3 separate regions of the Homo sapiens genome follow, and all the other regions are linked to region 1. Evidence: promoter capture Hi-C in human tissues and cell types (Jung and others, 2019). All regions are on one chromosome and are shown on one strand. The core of a region is centred on a gene start or on the middle of the fragment in contact, and the rest is flanking DNA. Distances in the headings are between cores, read along the strand shown. Region 1 holds the start of RAX (retina and anterior neural fold homeobox). Region 2 has its middle 55 kb from the start of LMAN1. Region 3 has its middle 13 kb from the start of SEC11C.

Region 1 (3,802 bases), core at 1-2,500:
CATCGAAGATCTGTGCCTCTCCCTTGAGACTCTGGGCATGCCAAGTCGAGGAAGGACAGTAATAAATGCATGGACACCCGTGAATTCCGAGAAGCATTGGCTGCAATTTGGGCCTCGGGCCCTCCCAGATCCCAGTTCCTCAACCTGGGCGCTTTACCTGGACCCGGACCTCTGGTAGGTTGACCTTGCCGGCCAGCTCCTCGCGGCTGTACACGTCCGGGTAGTGGGACTTCTCGAACGCGCGCTCCAGCTCATGCAGCTGGTACGTGGTGAAAGTCGTGCGGTTCCGCCGATGCTTTTTCTTGGGCTGTTCCTCCTCTGACAGTTTCGCTTCGCCGGTGGCTGGCCCGACGGGCAGCCCTGGGCTCGGCCGTGCCTCCCCGGGCTCCTTGGGGCAGTAGGGTCGAGGGGCTGGGGCGACGAGGCCCGGGAGGGTCAGATGCACTCCCCAAAACACCCTTGGGCCGACCCCGCCTCGCTGTGGGCACTGGCCAGCCCGCCTGCGGGCTCCGAGATGGCCCGGGGAGGTCCGTGGTGAGGGCGGCGATGGGTCCTAAGCTTTCTCTGAATGCAAATTGGAAGCTCCCGCCATAGACGGTCCCCAACCCCGCGCCCAGTTGCCTTAATAAAAGTTAAGGAAGGGGCGCTCTCGTCTGGCCAACTCCTAAGCTCGGGCGCCCGAACGGCCTCGCACAGCCAGGGGTGCGCACTCACCTTCGTACTCGGGGGCGGGCGCCGGGGCTGGCGGCGGGGAGGGCTCGGAGCCTTCCTCGGGCGCCTTGGGGCAGGCGGGCCGCGCGCCCAGCCTCCTATCCCGCTCCTTCGCGCCCCGGGCGCCCCGCTCCGCCGGGAAGGTGCCGAGGATCCCGTCGTCCTTGGTAAACCCCAGGATGGCCTCGATGCTGTGAAGTCGCGAGGTGCTCCCGCCCGGGCTGCGGAGCAGGTGGCCGGCAAGCGAGAAGCTCCCGTCGGCCATGGCTGGCGCGCAGCCCGGCAGGTGCATGGGGAGCGCCGGGAGGCGGGAGGGCGCTTTGGAGACGGAGAGGAGAGGCTCGAAGCCGGGTCTTCCCGAGTGCGGCGGTGCAACCCGACGGGTCCCGACCCTAGGTCAAGCTCCGCGGGCGAAGCCCGCCCGGGCTGCGCACGCTGGGGGTGGCCGAGCGCTCAGCCCGCTGCCGCCTTAGTCCCAGAAGTCGGAAGTTCGGGCTCGGGGTAGCTGGGGCTCTCGGCGCTAAAGGCGGGGAGCCAACTGGCCCTCGGCTCCTCCCCTCTCGCCCTGGACCCAGCCCCTTCTCTCGGCCCCTCCCTCCACAGAGGGGCGTGTCCTCACCCGGCCCAGCCACAGGGTCCTCTAGTGGCCACCCCTGGGCCGGCACTAGGAATATTCCCCTTCCACCTCTTGATCCGTTTTAAGCTTTACAAACACACTCCGGGGATCCGCGGCGGGATGCCTGATGGGCTCGGGAACCTGGTCGCGGCGCACCCCTAGTCCTGCCTCAGTGGGGCCGACGCCCTTGGGCTCATCTCTCCCCTTGCGTTTGTCTCCCTCTACTTCGGGCTTACCCTCTCACTTCAGACTACCCCCTGGGGGTCACCTCCCTCCTTGGACGCACCCCTCCCCAGCTTCAGACTCGCCCCTCTAGCCCCCTCTGGCTCACCTCCGCGGGGCCGCCACCCTGGCCTGTGCCCCCTGGAAGCGCCGAGACCCAGCCGAAGGCTTCCCAGCCCCGCACTCGTCGCAGTTTGAATTTCCCCTCGCTGGCTCCCTTTTCGGGACCCACTCCTTTCTTGGCTGGGTTGTACGAAGTCCCGGACCTCGCGTTTAGTTTGTCCGTCTATATCTGTTGTAACTCCTCCCAGTCCCCTCGGACTTGAGCGCCGGCAGCCTCCCTCCTTCCCCGCAGCGCCCACCCCAGGGCCATTTATGTCCGCAAGTCCGGTGACCTCTAGCGCCCGATCGCCCAGCAGGAGACTGGGAGCCCCGAGTCGGATGTGCTGCCGGGCTCAGGTCCCGCAGGAGACCCACCTGGAGTTCCTCGCTCCCGCCCCTTGTCCTGCGGGGAGGGCGGGCTCCTTTACTGATGAGCAGCGGTGTCGCACTCCCGCCTCCCTCCAACACTCCGGGCCAAGGAGATGGCCCAGAGCTGGCTGGGGAAGGACCTTCTCCCGGGGAAGAGGCCTCTCGCCTCCCCGAGGGTTCAGGAGTAATTGGCTTGCAGTTCTTTCTCCTTTGGACCCCCTCGAGGCTTCCGTGGCCCACAGTGACTGATCGGCCACTTGGAAAGATGATTGGATAGGGTGAGTGTGTTTCACCTCCAGCAGCGCGGATGGACAATGGCGCTGTGAACGTCTCACCCCTCAAATCTGAGGCGAGACCCGAGGCGAGCGCTTGGCCTTCCCTGAACTGGTGGCCTGAACCGTGAATTAAAATGCTTTCCTATAAAAGCTCAAGGACCTAGAGGACAATATCCCTAAAATCTCCTTTTCAGTAGGCGCTCTGATCTCCACAGCAGGGGTGTCTTCTTTATCCCGCTTGCGTTCAGACAAGCGTTTGCTGCGTCCCTTTAGAGGGCAAGGCAACCGTCGAGGGCCACGTCGTGGGCATCAAACAAATTGGGAAAGGCCAGGGCCGTTGGCCTGGTGGAGTTTAACGTCCAGTCTGGAAGACAAGACAAAGGAAGAGGGAAAACACACATCCTCAGATCCCCAACCTTTAAATTGGTGTTAGAAGGATGTTTGCGGAGGACAAGTCAATTTCTTAAGGATCATTCAATGGTTAATTCCCCATGATGGGCATATCTACTTTTAATAAAACTATATAATGGCAAACTAAAATAAGGGCAAGCATGTGACTGCAGGAGATAGAAATTGAACTAATTCAAGTCAGAAATTATCTTTTAAGAAAAAAGCTAAAATTAATGAAAGTTAATAGCACTTTACAGTGTTCACATATTACTTTATTTACTTATTATTTATTTGTCTGTTTATTTTAGAGACAGGGTCCCTCTCTGTTGCCCAGGCTGGAGTGCAGTGGCATGATGGTGGCTCACTGCAGCCTGGAACTCCTGGGCTCAAGCAATTCTCTCGACATGTCACTTTGTAGGTTTCAGAATCTTCTCACATTCTTCATGTCATCTGATCTTCACAACCTTGTGAGGTGAGCAGGACAGACATATTGGTCCCCATTTTACAGAAGAGGAAACTGAGGCTCAAAGTGATACAGCTATTAAGTGGAAGGGTCAGGACTAGAACTCAGGCCACTGACTCCTTGTCCAGTGTTTTCTGCCTGCAGCTCATTTGTAATTATTATTGTAGTGTGTGATCTTTTTGAAAAGAATCAAAGCCCATCTTAGCCTGCAGTCTGTCTTTAATCCTTCCCTGAGACTGGATTCTGCATCTAAGAGGCGGAGGTAGAAGCAGTTTAGCTCCCAGAAGAAATAAAGTCAGAGCCTATAGAGAGTGGGCTTTGGGTACCGGCATCCAGGGCAAATTAACAAACCCTCTGGAAAGTCCCCTGACAGACCAGGTTTTGCCTCCTCCTCCGCCCCTCCTCCACCTTTCCAGGGCCCACAAATGGCCTGGTGGCACCCGAAAAGGTCTGACTGCCAGTGACATAGACCAGGTGGCTGACGTGCTGAGGTGGTGGTGATCAGAGGGCAGCTGTGGGGATAATTAATTGGTATTTGTTGTTCCCCCTCTGACCGAGAATGCTTTTTATGCAAACTTCCCCAATATTAAATTGATCTCGATAATCACCGCTAAACAAAGATTGGCAGCGTTTCCTTAAGCTCCTGCCCACACG
Region 2 (3,802 bases), core at 486-2,985, 140 kb after region 1:
CCTCTCTGACTCCATCCTCCTGGTTTGGCCTCCCAAGTAGCTGGTACTACAGGAGTACAGTACCACACCTGGCTAATTTTTTTAGAGATGTGTTCTATGTTGCCTAGGCTTGTCTCAGACTCCTGGGTTCAAGTGATCCTCCCACCTCAGCCTCCCAAAGTGCTGGGATTACAGGTGTGAGCCACCACGCCCAGCCATGCCCTGTCACTTTCTAATGCTTCCATCTAGAATTCCAATTAGCTTCATTTTCATCCTTGTCATATTGTTCCATATGTCTCTTCCTTCATATTTTTCATCTTTGCCTCCTGGTCTTCAATTTACTTTCCTTCAAATCCATTTTCCAGTTCACCAATTCTACTGTATCTTACCTGCTGTTTAAACCATTCACTTCATTTAAAAATAATAATTATAGTTTTCATTTAGAGAAGTGTTTTCGGTCCTCTTCCAAATCTGTCTGATCAAATTTGATAGTTCCATGTTCCTTGCTTTTTTTCAATGCCTTTTTTTCTTAAATTGTATTAAACATACTTATTGTCGATGGTGTATCCAATAATTCCATATTTGCATTCTTTGCAGTTCATTTCAGCACTTTATTGCTTCCGTCAACTCTTACTCCTTTTTTTTGCTATGTTTAATGATTTTTGACGAGGGGCTCATGTTTCTTGGAAATGTATCCGTGAGACTTTTCTTGGAGGCCTGAGTTTAAAGTATGTGCATCCAGAGGGATTTGTGTTTGCTTCTGCCAGGTGCCTGGGAACACTATCAGCCTGGGATTATTTGAAACTAAATTTTCATTGCAGACCATTTGAGGTCACAGAAGTTGTTTCAAGTCAGGCTGGTGATGCCTATGGATTCACTGGCTCCTCTGTGGATGTTTTCACCCCTACTCACCCATTGAGCATGTTGTACTTTGAGTATCCAGACTTTGGATTAAGACTTAAATCCAGTTTCCTCCTTTATTTTGGTTCCTAGGGTTGGGATAACAAAGTGCCACAAATTAGGTTGCTTAAACAGCAGAAACTTATCATCTCACAGTTCTGGAGGCTTGAAGTCCAAAATCAAGGCGTTGGCAGAGTTGGTTCCTTCTGAGGGATGTCCCATGCTCTCCCCTGGCTTCTGGAGGTTTGCAGGCGATCTCTAGTATTCATTGGTGTGATGGCATCACCCCAATCTCCGCCTTCATCTTTACATTCTGTGTCCATATTTTCCCCTTTTCATAAGGACACCAGTCATTACATTACATACATTAGAGTCCACCCTAAATGACCTCAAATTAACTCATTACATCTTTAATAACCCCATTTCCAAAAAAGGTCATATTCTGATGTACTGTGGGCTGGAATTTCAACATACGAATTTTGGGAAACACAATTCAACTCATAACATCCCTGTTTTGTCCCAAGCTTTCTTTCCAGTCCACACGTACATTTACATGTACATAGACACATGTACATGTCTATTTAAATGGTGGCTCCAAATAACAAGGGACTAGCAGACATGCAGTGGTAAATACCAACTCAAGTTCCTACTGGCCTCTTTGGATTTGTCATTTCTTTCTTTCCTTTCTTTCTTTCTTTTTTTTTTTTTTTTTTTTGACTGAGTCTCACTCTGTTGCCCAGGCTGGAGTGCAGTGGCATGATTTCAGCTCACTGCAACCTCCGCCTCACGGGTTCAAGTGATTCTCCTGCCTCAGCCTCCCAAGTAGCTGGGATTACAGGCATCTCTGACCTCCAAATAATCCCCTTAGTTTCCCGTCAAGTCAACCATGCATCTAAAAATATGTTTTTAAAATTTTAATCATCATGTTAAGCTTCATTAAAAGAATGAGTTTTTGTGAATATTTAGTCCAAAATATACCTGGAAATGGGAACCACTTTTGATGTAAGACCAAGGTAGAAGTCCACATGATTTCTCCTTGGAAAGAAACAAGAATTTCAAATTATTGGTTTAATGTGACCAACATTTTTGAGTAAATCTGTCAAATATTCCTCATCTTAAAAAAAGCACAAGATATGAAGGTGATGAAAACTAAACAAAATATAATCCTGGCAGGAATTCTATGTTAAAAAAAAGAAAATATTTAGCAGTACTGTGTATACTGCCTGAACTGGTGAGACCCTAATATAAATTTGGAAAGATTCAAATTTGTTTTCTTTCCCCTGACATATTTTTTAAAAGTTTGAGAGAATCCTCCAATAACTCTTTATCCCACCAGCAAATTACAGAGCTATAGAATGAAGACTATCTGCCCACACATAAGATCTGAACGTAATAATATATTTTACTTAGTCGCTTGATTGACTTAAGCAGATTGATGCTTATAAAGCCTGGATGCATGTGCTAATTTTTCAAGTGGCACATTTTACAGAGAGGATTTGTGTTTGCTTCTGCCAAAACATGGTTTCACAGTAACTCGGTTCTCAAATACTAGGACGGAGATTCGTTGAAGCATGCCATTAAAAAAACTTGATTTTACACTTTTCCGCCCACCTTTTTCACAACAGCACAGCAAAACCTAGCTTCTTTCCCCAAACTCCTCCTTCCCCTCCAACTTCATGCCTTGCCTTCCACAGGCCTGCCTGTGCCCCGCTGGCTGTGCTCCTGGCAAGAACTGTTTTCCTCCCACTGTCACTGCTTTTTAAAATGAGACGCATTCTGCAGCATTCTTTCTCTCTTCATCTCCCTTCTCTTCCTCAATTCTATTTCTGGATGAGTACATTGGCACATGTTTTTATTGTCAGGTTACACTTTCCCCCTGGTCAAAGAGAGGATGAATATGAAAGGGAGCCTCCTACATATTATTTATATTTCAAGTCTAATACAGAGGTTCTCAATGTATTGTTCATAGAACTTGTTAGAGAGGCAAATGTTCCAGTTCTACCCCCAAGATGTACTGAATCTCACACGCTGGGGGTGGAGCCAGCAATCTATTTTAACCATCTTTCCAGGTGATTCTTTTTTTTTTTTTTTTGAGATGGCGTCTCACTCTGCCGCCCAGGCTGGAGTGCAGTGGCGAAATTTTGGCTCACTACAACCTCCACCTCCTGGGTTCAAGTGATTCTCCTGCCTCATTCTCCCGAGTAGCTGGGATTACAGGCATGGGCCACCATGCCCGGCTAATTTTTGTATTTTTAGTAGAGACAGGGTTTCACCATGTTGGCCAGGCTGGTCTTGAATTCCTGACCTCAGGTGATCTGCCCACCTCAGCCTCCCAAAATGCTGAGATTACAGGCTTGAGCCACTGCACCTGGCCAGGTGTTTCTGATGGGCACACACACATTTGATAACTGCAGGGCTGAGGGCTAACGTCTCTTTTTTTTTTTTGGAAGAAGTTTTACTCTTGTCACCCAGGCTGGAGTGCAGTAGTGTGATCTCAGCTCACTGCAACCTCCACCTCCCGGGTTCAAGCGATTCTCCTGCCTCAGCCTCGAAAGCAGCTGGGATTGCAGGCATTCACCACCATGCCCAGTTAATTTTGTATTTTTAGTAGAAATCAGGTCTCACCATGTTGGCCAGGCTGGTCTCAAACTCCTGACCTCAGGTGATCCGCCCGCCTCGGCCTCCCAAAGTGCTGGGATTACAGGCGTGAGCCACCGCACCTGGCCTTTTTTTAAACTTTTCTTCTCTTACCAGGCGTGTGTGCAGTTCCTTCCAGAGGCCCCTGGCGGTGCTGACAAGCATCAGTCTCTTCTTACAAATGCTGGCAACAGGAAAAGCATATTTCCAAAGGGCAAGCATTCAAACATGTAAGTGTGAGCATTTCACTGCCTCCCCTTCCAAGATTAGAGTTTTTGGACAAGAA
Region 3 (3,802 bases), core at 873-3,372, 150 kb before region 1:
TCACAGCACAACTGGAGATGGGAAAATGAAGATCTAGGAACAGAGAACAGAGAGGGAGAGAGCTGATCCCCAGCAAAGGGTGAGGAACTATTTAGGTGCTTGATGAACCTGTGAGGCTTCACTTGACTTTATTGACTTCCTTTGTGAGAACAAGTCAAGAAGACAAAACCGGGGGCCCAGCAGCATCAAGAACTGATCCAAGAGGCATCTTCAAGATCACATCTGTCACAGCCACATCCGTGCTGAGGGACCGTATGGATGCTGAGAGTGTACCCTTCCCTGTGAACAGGGCTGTGAGGTTGGAAGGATGGGTGGTTGGGTGTCACTGCTTCTGCTTTTTTGCCCCATCACTTGGGCCTCTTTTCCTGTTTTTTTAAGGGCCTACTGTTAAGGAGGTGCCATATGAACAGTGTTGAGGATGATTTTTAGTCAGTGCTTGTCCCTTGCTCCATTTTCACTAGTGAATTTAGGAGCTGTTCAGTAACATTTCAAGAGAGGTTCGCGGATTGCCTTGTCTTTTAGAGAAGATGCTGCTGTAGGTAGAAGTTTGACCCTGATGGGTTCTAAATCCCTTTGAAGCCTTAGAAGTTATGATCCTAAAAAATAATTGGCCAACAGCTGGGTGATTTGGACTGCAAGTTCACCCATGGCCAAGACACATAGATCATTTTGTTGGAAATATAGGGCTGTTGGAAGAGTGGTTATATTAAGAGTTGCCTCAGTTATCCACTTTGCTTTGGGTCAACAAGACTTAAATATGGAACCATTATTTTGAATGTAATTCCTTAAAGCCTAGTCCAACAACGTAAGTTTCCCCCTGCCTTCCAGATTTAGTTATTTGTATGACATTGAAAAGTCATTTCTCTCTCTGAGCCTTAGCTCACCATCAGTTAGGTGAAAAAGTTTTACCCATGTGATTTCTATGGTACCTTCTAAGTTTCACATAGCTTGACTGTCTAAAATCTTTTTTTTTTTTTTTTTTTTTGAGATGGAGTCGTGCTCTGTGACCCAGGCTGGAGTGCAGTGGCGCGATCTTGGCTCTCTTGGGTTCAAGTGATTCTCCTGCCTCAGCCTCCCAAGTAGCTAGAATTACAGGTGCATGCCACCGTGCCTGGCTAATTTTTGTATTTTTAGTAGAAATGGAGTTTCACCATGTTGGCCAGGCTGGTCTCGAGCTCCTGACCTCAAGTGATCTGCCCACCTCAGCCTCCCAAAGTGCTGGGATTACAGACATGGGCTGCTGTGACTGGCTAAAATCTTATTGTGTGGGATTAGAATTTAGTTTAGCCTTTCTGGAGGGAAATTTAAAATTTAAATGTTAATGCTGTTTGGCTAAGTGATCCAATTTCTAGGAATTTTATCTTACAAAACTGCCAAGACACCCCCCACCCCACCCCACATCATAACATTGTTTCAAAAGCAACAAGTAGAAACAAATTAATAAGAAGGGAGAGGGGCTAGATCTGGAAGGACACACAGCATACTTCCAACACTGGGAAATAACTTGGATTGCATTGAGAGTGGAGTGGGGTGAAGGGAGATTTCATTTGTCTGTAATCTGGGTTTTCCATGGGAATATTTATGTGTTACTTGTGTGACTATATGAAAAAAACCCACCCAGCTTATTAAGTCAGATATTGTATTTGGTGGTTGGAGTAGCCTCTTCAATGATTAGTTATACCAGTCAGGGTGCAGTCAAGAGACAAAGATCACACCAGTAATTTGAACAAAGAAAATTTAACATGTTAATAACTAGCAACTAATAACAGTGGATTAACTACTTAGGGAGTAAAGAGAACTCTAAAGAATACAGGACTAGCAGATACAGGGAGTAGCCACGACTTATAGGGCTGAAGCAGTATACCCAAGAACAGAACAAACTTGAAAGAGGATCTGCCTCCTGATGTCTGAGATTAGATTTCGAAGCTGTGGCTGTGGTCCCCTGGATGGTAGAGAAGTTCTCTGAGGTGTGACGGGCTAGGATGGCAAGCAGGAAACTGCCCACAGAAGTGCCAGTGAGATGCACTGGAAGACCATCCACGGCACTGGTGAAACTCAAAGGGCAGCCAACCGCTGTGCAAACATTGTGACTTGCTGGAGGGTGAGCAGCACTGGGAATCACGCGTGCCACTGGTATCTAAATACCACAGGTATCTACATACCACAGGAACAGGGGAAAAGGCACACGAGAGCCTGTCCTCCTCTGGTGTCCCCCTAGTGCTCTCTATTGGCAAAGCTTAACATTGTGTCAGCTGGCAATGGAGAAAGTTCACAGGGTTCAGCTCTGTATCACAAAGCAGGGCAAGGAAGGGTAGATTTGGAGAGAGGTCATAATTGTTCAAAGGCACAGGTCGCTCATTTAGCTAATCAGCTTCCATATGCATCCTCCTATACATGTTTGAACTTCTGGACAACAATTAAACAACTCTATATTTCCAATGAACAAGCAGCAGCTAACCTTTGAATAAGTGAAAAAGTTCTCACTTTCTCCAAAATGAGGACATATGCAGTCCCAGTCATTGTATCCTTGCTGGCTATATTATTTATTTTTTAAATTCAGTCACAGTTCCACTGAATATTCTGTTACCTAAAGACTAAATTATAAAGTTAACATCCAAGAACTTGCATATAAATGGATAATAGGTAGGAGGAAGAAGAACAAAATGGTTATAACATGCAAATTAATATGTACATATAATAGGCAAATAAAAAAATATGCAGCTGTAATATAGCCCTCATTTCTATAATTGGCCACAAGGTCAAGGTGATGATTTTATTCTACCACTACCCATTCTATAGTTCCCTTATTTCAGCGTGCAACTTGGCTGATAATTATTGTTTATATGGTGAAGTAACCAAAAACTTTGTTTTTCAAAGGTCTGAGTCCTCAGTAGTTCTGTCTTTTAAAGAAATTTTTGGCTGCTGTAGCCATTTTTTATTGAACATGAAAGAACTAAAAGACATCCTAGAGTACCCACTGAGTTTCAGATAGAGCTCTCCTTGGCCCCATTTTGTAGTAGCAATCCGATTTTCTTTTAGTAATCAGAATCAATTATTCCAGCCATTTTTCTGCTTTCTGATTCAGTGTATAAGGAGCCCAAGGGGCTCGAGGGTAGTTTCATCTGCCAATTTGATGGAGCCATTGCTGTGTCCCTAGCAGGAGCATTTCCCCTTGGGGAATAAGATTGCCAACTAGCAGAGCTTAAGGTTGCCAAGATGGGAAGCAAATTTTTGAGAGTACATTACCGGGTATAATATTGAGAGGAACCAATCTCATTTCCACTTTTTTATTTCTGGACTCATGTGTTCTGGTTATGGAAACAGCACTACATAATTGTTATCAATTGAAAGCATATACTGCATTCTATAAGACAAAACTAAAATTTTTAGAATTATCTCCAAATTGATATCATTATCAAAGCTTCAGGGAGCCCTCCGACTTTTCAATCAGGCCAGCTGCTTATGAGTGATGAGGTATGTAATAAAAGCAGTTTATTACATAGGCATGAACCAATGCTGAATATGTTCTTTGCTGTGAAATTAGTTCCTTGATCAGAAGCAATAGTGATGCTGCATGTAATGCCATGACGATGGGTAAGGAATGCTGTGAGTCCACAGATGGTGGTGCTAGCAGAAGCATTTGATGCAGAGAAGGCATATCCATATTTGGATATGTATCTATTTCAGTGAGAACAAATCTCTTCCCTCTCCATGATAGAAAATATCCAATGTAATCAACACCTGTGACCAGCTGGCTGGTTAGCCCAACCAAAAAAATTTGCCATTTTGGGGCTCAATGTCA

What was found. Contacts are between HindIII fragments. The study calls those that stand out against the background at their distance.
Region 2: a fragment that was not itself captured here is called in contact with the fragment with the promoter of RAX in region 1 in 3 of the 25 tissues and cell types used here (H1 embryonic stem cells, heart left ventricle and mesendoderm cells).
Region 3: a fragment that was not itself captured here is called in contact with the fragment with the promoter of RAX in region 1 in 2 of the 25 tissues and cell types used here (mesendoderm cells and thymus).

Annotation. Positions count from the first base shown.
Region 1 is chr18:59,272,204-59,276,005 of GRCh38, forward strand. RAX (retina and anterior neural fold homeobox) reads right to left here and starts at 1,251. Exons shown (of 3, transcript NM_013435.3): 1 at 715-1,251; 2 at 158-411. The coding sequence starts at 1,003. The HindIII fragment of the contact is 4,384 bases long and covers 987-3,802 here.
Region 2 is chr18:59,411,871-59,415,672 of GRCh38, forward strand. No RefSeq gene overlaps it. Among named protein-coding and RNA genes, the nearest start is that of LMAN1, 55 kb to the left of the region's middle. The HindIII fragment of the contact is 5,733 bases long and covers 1-3,802 here.
Region 3 is chr18:59,125,048-59,128,849 of GRCh38, forward strand. No RefSeq gene overlaps it. Among named protein-coding and RNA genes, the nearest start is that of SEC11C, 13 kb to the right of the region's middle. The HindIII fragment of the contact is 3,708 bases long and covers 269-3,802 here.